2 separate regions of the Homo sapiens genome follow, and region 2 is linked to region 1. Evidence: promoter capture Hi-C in 16 types of primary human blood cells and fetal thymus (Javierre and others, 2016). All regions are on one chromosome and are shown on one strand. The core of a region is centred on a gene start or on the middle of the fragment in contact, and the rest is flanking DNA. Distances in the headings are between cores, read along the strand shown. Region 1 holds the start of MYLIP (myosin regulatory light chain interacting protein). Region 2 holds the start of HIVEP1 (HIVEP zinc finger 1).

The links. The method cuts DNA at HindIII sites, captures the fragments that hold promoters and counts their contacts. A CHiCAGO score of 5 or more calls a contact.
Region 2: a contact is called between a fragment that was not itself captured here and the fragment with the promoter of MYLIP in region 1, in 1 of 17 cell types (fetal thymus). The highest score is 7.2, in fetal thymus.

Annotation. Positions count from the first base shown.
Region 1 is chr6:16,127,263-16,130,468 of GRCh38, reverse strand. MYLIP (myosin regulatory light chain interacting protein) reads right to left here and starts at 1,383. Exons shown (of 7, transcript NM_013262.4): 1 at 1,060-1,383. The coding sequence starts at 1,146. RefSeq lists a silencer at 702-1,701. The HindIII fragment of the contact is 2,730 bases long and covers 354-3,083 here.
Region 2 is chr6:12,009,708-12,013,045 of GRCh38, reverse strand. HIVEP1 (HIVEP zinc finger 1) reads right to left here and starts at 734. Exons shown (of 9, transcript NM_002114.4): 1 at 480-734. RefSeq lists silencers at 580-719, 900-1,809 and an enhancer at 2,139-2,683. The HindIII fragment of the contact is 4,790 bases long and covers 1-3,338 here.

The sequences.
Region 1 (3,206 bases), core at 134-2,633:
TTTTTACAAAGTTCAATGGTGTTACAATTCCTGATCTAAACTGGAAAAACAAAGTTCCACGGCTCCAATGATACCAAACCACGAGCTCTAGTATGGAGGCTCATAATTCCTTTTAACGTCTAGGGCATGACCAATTGCAATAGAGAAAAAAGGAGTCCTCAAAAGTAGCCTTCCAAAAGATGAGGAGGGGAAACTACAGGGTATTTTCCTTCGTATTCCAATCACCGGAATTCCCTCCACCAGCATACTCTGCACAGCTGATTTTTGGCGACTTATTATCTGGGCAATTTTAACCATTTGGACTCCAAAAATCAAACACATTGAGGGAACACGCCACAAGTGTCAGCTAAGCTTCACAAGCGGTTTTCCAAACATCTCAGAGCTAGAGGGGTTGAGGGCACAGCGTTTTCCTGGGATCACATGTGCTGTCTGCCATACCACCTCTGCACTATTTGGCACCGATCTCCCTCACTGTTAAGGAAACACATGCTTAAAAACAACCGAGCAGTAGATGACCCAAACCTATTCCTCCCGTCCCCCGCAAACCCGGAGATGCAGGTGAACGGTGCATTTGAGAGCAGCAGCCTGAGAAGCAGCGTGAGACAAGGGCCCGGCTTGTCTGCCAAGAACCCCTGGGGCCCGAGACTGCTTCGAGCCACTCCATCCCATCCTGGCACGCGGGTGGCACTGCCAGGCGCCGCGGGGACCCGACAGGCGGCATCACGCACATACCTGCGGCAGGTGTGCGGAGCCGCCTTCTTCCGGGAAAGTGCTGGGTTGGGGGGATGATGGGGCGCTGGGGGGTGGATCCCGGCTGCGGGCTGCGCCCGGCCCTCAGCGCTGGGGACCCCCGCTGCGCGCTTTCTCCGCGCACCCCACGCGCGCCAGGAGGAGACCGCGCGCCCCACGCCCGTGGAGAGGAGGGGACGCGCTCCCCCCGGCTGCCGCCGCAGTGCCTCCCGGCCCCTAGTAGGGGGCGCGCCAGAGTGCCAGGCGTCGCTGCGAGGCCCCTCGGCCTCGCGGGACCCGCCGGGGCCCCTTCTTGCCCCTCGCCCTCACCTGGTTGAGGCAGTCCTCGCCGTTGGCTTTCGCCTCCACCTCCACCTCCATCAGCACCGCGTCCGGCCTCGTCACATAACACAGCATGGCTGGGGCTGCCGCTGCCGCCACAGCCGCCTTCTCTTTGGTGTGCGCGGGGCTGCCGCCTTGTCACTGGTGGGACCCAGCCCCGGACTCGGAGAGGGCTGGCCCTCGAAGGCTGCAGCTCTGCGGACCCTTGTCCGGGGCCCCGCGGCCGCCACTCGCGTCCCCGCCACCCCCTCACCCGCTGCCCGCCAGCTGCCCCTGTCCTCCGCGGTGGCGCCGCACTCCAGCAGCCCAACTGCCTGCGCTGCGACAGGGACTCTGCTGATATAGCGGCCCCGCCCCCTTCAGCTCGGGTCCCCGCCAATCACGGCCTCCCTGCCCCTCCTCCCCCGCCCGATCAGCCAATAGCGGCGCCCCTCGACCGCGGCCCCCGCCTCCCAGAGCCGGCTGAGTTTCCCTGGCCGCCCCGGGAGGTGGCAGCTTGCGGGCGCCGAGTGCTGCGGGAAGGGAGGGAGACCCCGGAACACACCAGCCGCCTCTGTCCGCTGGGCGACGCTGCTCAGAGTGAGCGATCGCCCGGGGCTCCAGGCGGGGACGCCTTTCTGCCGTCTCGAATTTACGGTGATTAAACACCTCCAAGCTGCCACTGTTCTTCAAATATCTTGGATCACTCTGAGCACGCATTTCGGTTGTGAAAGCAAAAAGGAAAAGGAGCAACCCAAAGCCTAAAGAAAACTGTTCTCGTCCGGGCATGGTGGCTCACGCCTGTAATCCCAGCACTTTGGGAGGCCGAGATGGGTGGATCACCTGAGGTCAGATTCGAGACCAGCCTGGCAAACATGGTGAAACCCCCGTCTCTACTAAAAATACAAAAAAAAAAACAAAATAGCCAGGCGTGGTGGCGGGCACCTGTAATCCCAGCTACCTGGGAGGCTGAGGCAGGAGAATCGCTTGAACCCAGGAGGCGGAGGTTGCAGTGAGCTGAGATTGTGTCACTGCACTGTAGCTTGGGCAAGAAGAGCAAAAAACCCTGTCTCAAAAAAAAAAAAAAAAAAAAAAAAAAAAAGAAAAGAAAAAGAAAAAAGAAAAAAAAAAGAGAAAAAGAAAACTCTTTTCCACCAGGATTAGCCACAGTGGGTTGCTTGGAGGCAGAATTGTTGTTCCTTATTAAGACCTCATCATTGAGAAAAACAAAATCTGAGTATGAAAGTTTTTGCAGCTGACCAGTGAGCCAGGTGTCTTGGTCTAGTGCTGGTGTGTTACACTCCGGAAGGGCTTCTCCTTACTCGTTCTGCTGAATCAAAACGCCTTACAGGGTACCAGGCCCTCTCTCAGGTTGCTCATTCTACCTCCTGTCTTATCTCACTCATTCATTAAACATTTGTGCAGCACCTGATACCCTGCCTGTCCCTTCTCACAGGCAACCAGATGTTGTCCTCGTCTTAAGGTAAGGTGCTCATCTCCTGACCTAACAGGTGGCATTACTGCAATATTAGCTATTAAAGGTCTACAACCCTTCACTCATTTACCGCTTGTTCCTCTTTGCCAATATATTACATAGCCTACCTTTTTGATTTCTTTATAGGAGCCAGATGATGTGGGTTTCAGCCGTGGAAACTTAGCAAACTTACTTCAGGCCAGCTCGATGGCTCACACCTGTAATCCCAGCACTTTTGGAGGCCGAGGCAGGAGGATCGCCTGAGCCCAGCAGTTTGAGACCAGCCCGGTTTCGCAACACAGCGAAACCCCATCTCTACACAAAATACAAAAAATTAGCCAGGCGTGGTGGCGCCTGCCTGTAGTCTCAGCTACATGGGAGGCTGAGGTGGGAGGATCACTTGAGCCTGGGAGTTCGAGGCTGCAGTGTGCTGTGATCCCCCTACTGCACTCCAGCCTAGGCGACAGAGCAAAAGACCCTGTCTCTAAACAACAACAACAACAAAAAGAAAACAACGAAAGAAAAAAAAAGAGAAAACTTACTTCATCTGTCTGAAGCTTGGTGTTGTCAACAGTAAAATGGAGATGGCAATATCTGCTCTGTCTCCACCCAGCATTGTTGGGAAGCGCAGCAAAGATAATAACGTTCACAAAAGCATTTGAATGTCCCCGTGTATGTAAGG
Region 2 (3,338 bases), core at 559-3,058, 4.1 Mb after region 1:
CCAAGGCGAGCCCGAGCCGACCCGCACCCCAACCCACCGCCCCCTTCCCAACTGCAGCTGGCGCGCACTCCCAACCCGGAAAGAAACTACCCAGGTGGCCGGGAGTAAACAGGCACTTAGAGCAAAGAACGAAAGGGAAAGAAACCCACAAAGCCGGGAGGTTGGGATGCCGAGGCCTGGTCTCTTTCACCCCCCACCCTCTTGCAAAATGCGTCTGCGGCTGGAAGGCGGCTGGGGAGGCTGGGTCCCTCTGTACCTGCTCGGCTCGCGCGCGGCGAGGGCGCCCAGAAGTGCCAAGGGTCTCCCGCACGCAGCCATCCCCTCTGCAAGGTCGGCGGTTGCACACACACGCACACACACACACACACGCGCGCCCGCACGCCCCCCGCCCGCCGAAGGGATGTGCTCCTGCCCCCCCCCCCCTCCGCCCCGCCGCCCTCCCCAGCTGCAGCGCCCCCGCCGCGGAGCCCGCGCCGAACCTGCTGCCAGGACGCCCGGCGGAGCCGCTGCCGCTGCAGCCGGCCCTGGAGCTGCGCTGCTGATGGCGGCGGCCGCGGCTCGGGATCTCCGCGACCCCCGCGCGGCGGCGGCGGCGGCGCCTGGGATCCCTCCTTCACTTGACAACCCCAAACACAAACATAACCTCCTCCGGCGGCCGCCGCTCCCCGGTCCCCCGCTCCGTCCGCCACCCTGCCGCCGCCCAGCAGCCGCCACGCTGAAGGCCGGCGACTGGCGCTCACACCACCCAGCACTGAAATATTAAACAGGGGAGCGGGCCGGGGGGCGGGGGGGGGAGCGCGGGGCGCGCGGGCGGGGGCCGCAGCCGCCGGGCGGAGGAGGCGGCGAAGCTCGCCGGCGCCCGGAGCCACGGCATGATCGCGGCCGCCAGGGAGCCGGGCAGCCGGGCTGGGGGGCGCGCGCCGCGGCGGGGCGGGCGGACAGACCCTGGGGCCGCGGGGCCCGGGGCGGGAAGGACGGGCGCGGGCTTTACCTCTCCCCCGGGGCAGAGTAGGGCACGTTTAGCGTCTTTGGGGCCGGCGGGAGGAACGCGGGCCGGGCGGCGCGGGGGAGGCAGGGCGAAGGTCGGAGGCTTTCCCGCGGGTGGGCGGGGCGGCAGGGGATCCCCGGGGGCGGGAGGAGGGGAGGCCGCGGGCGGCGACGCGTGGGCGGGGGAGGGGGCGTCCCCGCGGGGGCTGGGGTTGAGGCCGGGGCGAGGGGCGCGGGACGCCCAGGCGCCGGGGCCCAGCTGGGCCGGCGCGGCCGCCAGCTCTGACCGGGTGTAGGGACTGGATGGGCGCCCGGCCCGGCACGAACCCGGAGCCAGTGCCCCGGGTCTCCCCGGCGGGGCGGGCCCCAGACCGCGCCGGCCCCGCCACCTACCCGCCGCTTCGCCCCTCCCCGCCCCGCCCGGCCGAGCCGCCGCAGGGACGGGAGGGGGACGCGGGAGGAGGTGGCAGCGCAGCCCGGGGGGGAGGGGCGGGGTTAGGGACGCGGGGGGCGGGAGCCCTGGGTCGCGACGCCTGGGGAACCAGCACACGGCGGGGGCGGAGGGGCGGGCCCGGCCAGTCACGCGGCCCCGGGAAGGCCTGGCGGGGTCGCTCAGTTGGGGGCGGTTGGTCCGGGAAGAGGGACGGGACGGGCGGGGCCGTAGTTTCTCTTTACCGTCTCTTTACTTTCTACAGCAGGATGTGGGCCGGCCGCTGACGTCATGGGGTCTCCCGGCCCCGCCCCTCGCCCGGGCAGAATGGGGGAGGGGGAGGCGGGGGGGGGGGGGGACCCCAAGGGGGTTTCCTCAGCAACGCGTAGAAGGAAGGGGAAAGTCATTGTGAAACTTAAAACTCATTAACTTTGAAAAACAACTTTTAAAAAAACGGAGGGGGCAGGGTGTTGGTTTGGAGAGTGGAAGGGGACATGTTAACCCTGAACTGAAACCACTTTTTGGTGGCGGATGTTCTATTAAAAGAGCGAGGAAAGCCAAGGTTATTCCAGAGGCCGCTCCAAAGCCCCGCTGGTGCTTCCCAGTGCCGAAGCTGCGAGCGCAATTAACCCCTGCCTGCCAGCCTGACAGCTTATAGGGCCAACCCGGGAGGGGACTTCGGGGACAGAAAAGGGGGGTGCGGGGCTGGTCGTCGGACCGGGCTCCAGGGAAGAGGGGAGAGCGTGAAAGGGGAAGAGGGAGTAATTAGCATGAACCAAGGTGTGACCCCGGCTGCTAGAAAGCAGTAGAGAAAGCAAGGAGTGGAAATCCATGGCAAAGCAGTGAAGAGGGGCTGGACCAGGGTAACGAAGGTTTTCAGGGTTAGACCTAAAGAACGTTCGCAGTTTGGGGCACAGAAATTCCACAGGTCCACCTCAAGAAGCAAAAGTGGCTGGTTTAACGGGCCACCTCAAACTTGAGAGGAATAAGGTGAAACAAAATTGATGCAAAAAAAAAAAAATCCCTGATGAAACTAAACTGGTTTCCCCTTTTAAGGAATAAAAATGCTAAACGACCATACAACCACTAAGACAGCTGGCCATCTGTGCAAACTTGAATTGTTTTGTTCCCTTGGGCTTCCATAACGACGTCTAGGTTTTTCCTGCTGGAGTTGACCCCTAAAATTCCCCTGAGGAAATCGTACCTCTGGCTCATTTGAGCTAAGAAAAGCTCAAACCACCAGAATGGGAATGATTAAAAATGGAATACTCAGTAATGGCGAGTGTGTAGCCAAAAATAATATCATGTAAAGGGAGAAATATGCCTACTACAAAGTAAATTTGGTTATAAAAGCAAAGATCATCCAACTGTGTACATGTACAATTATGTCTAGCATACTAATGCTAACCCTACGATGAAATAATGCAATTTTTATTTTCATTGTGCTATAACCATCTCTCATTTGTGAAATGAAATGATATCCAATAGGTTGCAATCACCAAAAAAGTATATAATGTAACTTCCCAACTGGGTTATTTGAATCCAAAAGTAAACATGCATTTAACTGTGAACGTATAGCTATTAATCTGTCAGGAGAAAGGTAATGTGATAATGAGTGAAGTTTGTATCACTTTGGAAGTGAAAAATGCTAACTGAATGAATAACGTTTAACCCAATAATTGTTGAGCACAACATACTGTCAACACAATGTTTATGTAGGATTCAGCATTACTACGAACTTTCTAACAAAACATACATGCAATTTCGAATTACGATAGGTAAATTTTGACATTTCAACTATTTCCTTGAGCAGCAAACCGATATTAAACTTTTATTTGAAATATATACAATACAGAATAGTTTCCTAGTAAGTTTTTGAATTTTCTAAATGCAGTTTCTTTTCCTAATTCTGCCTACAATT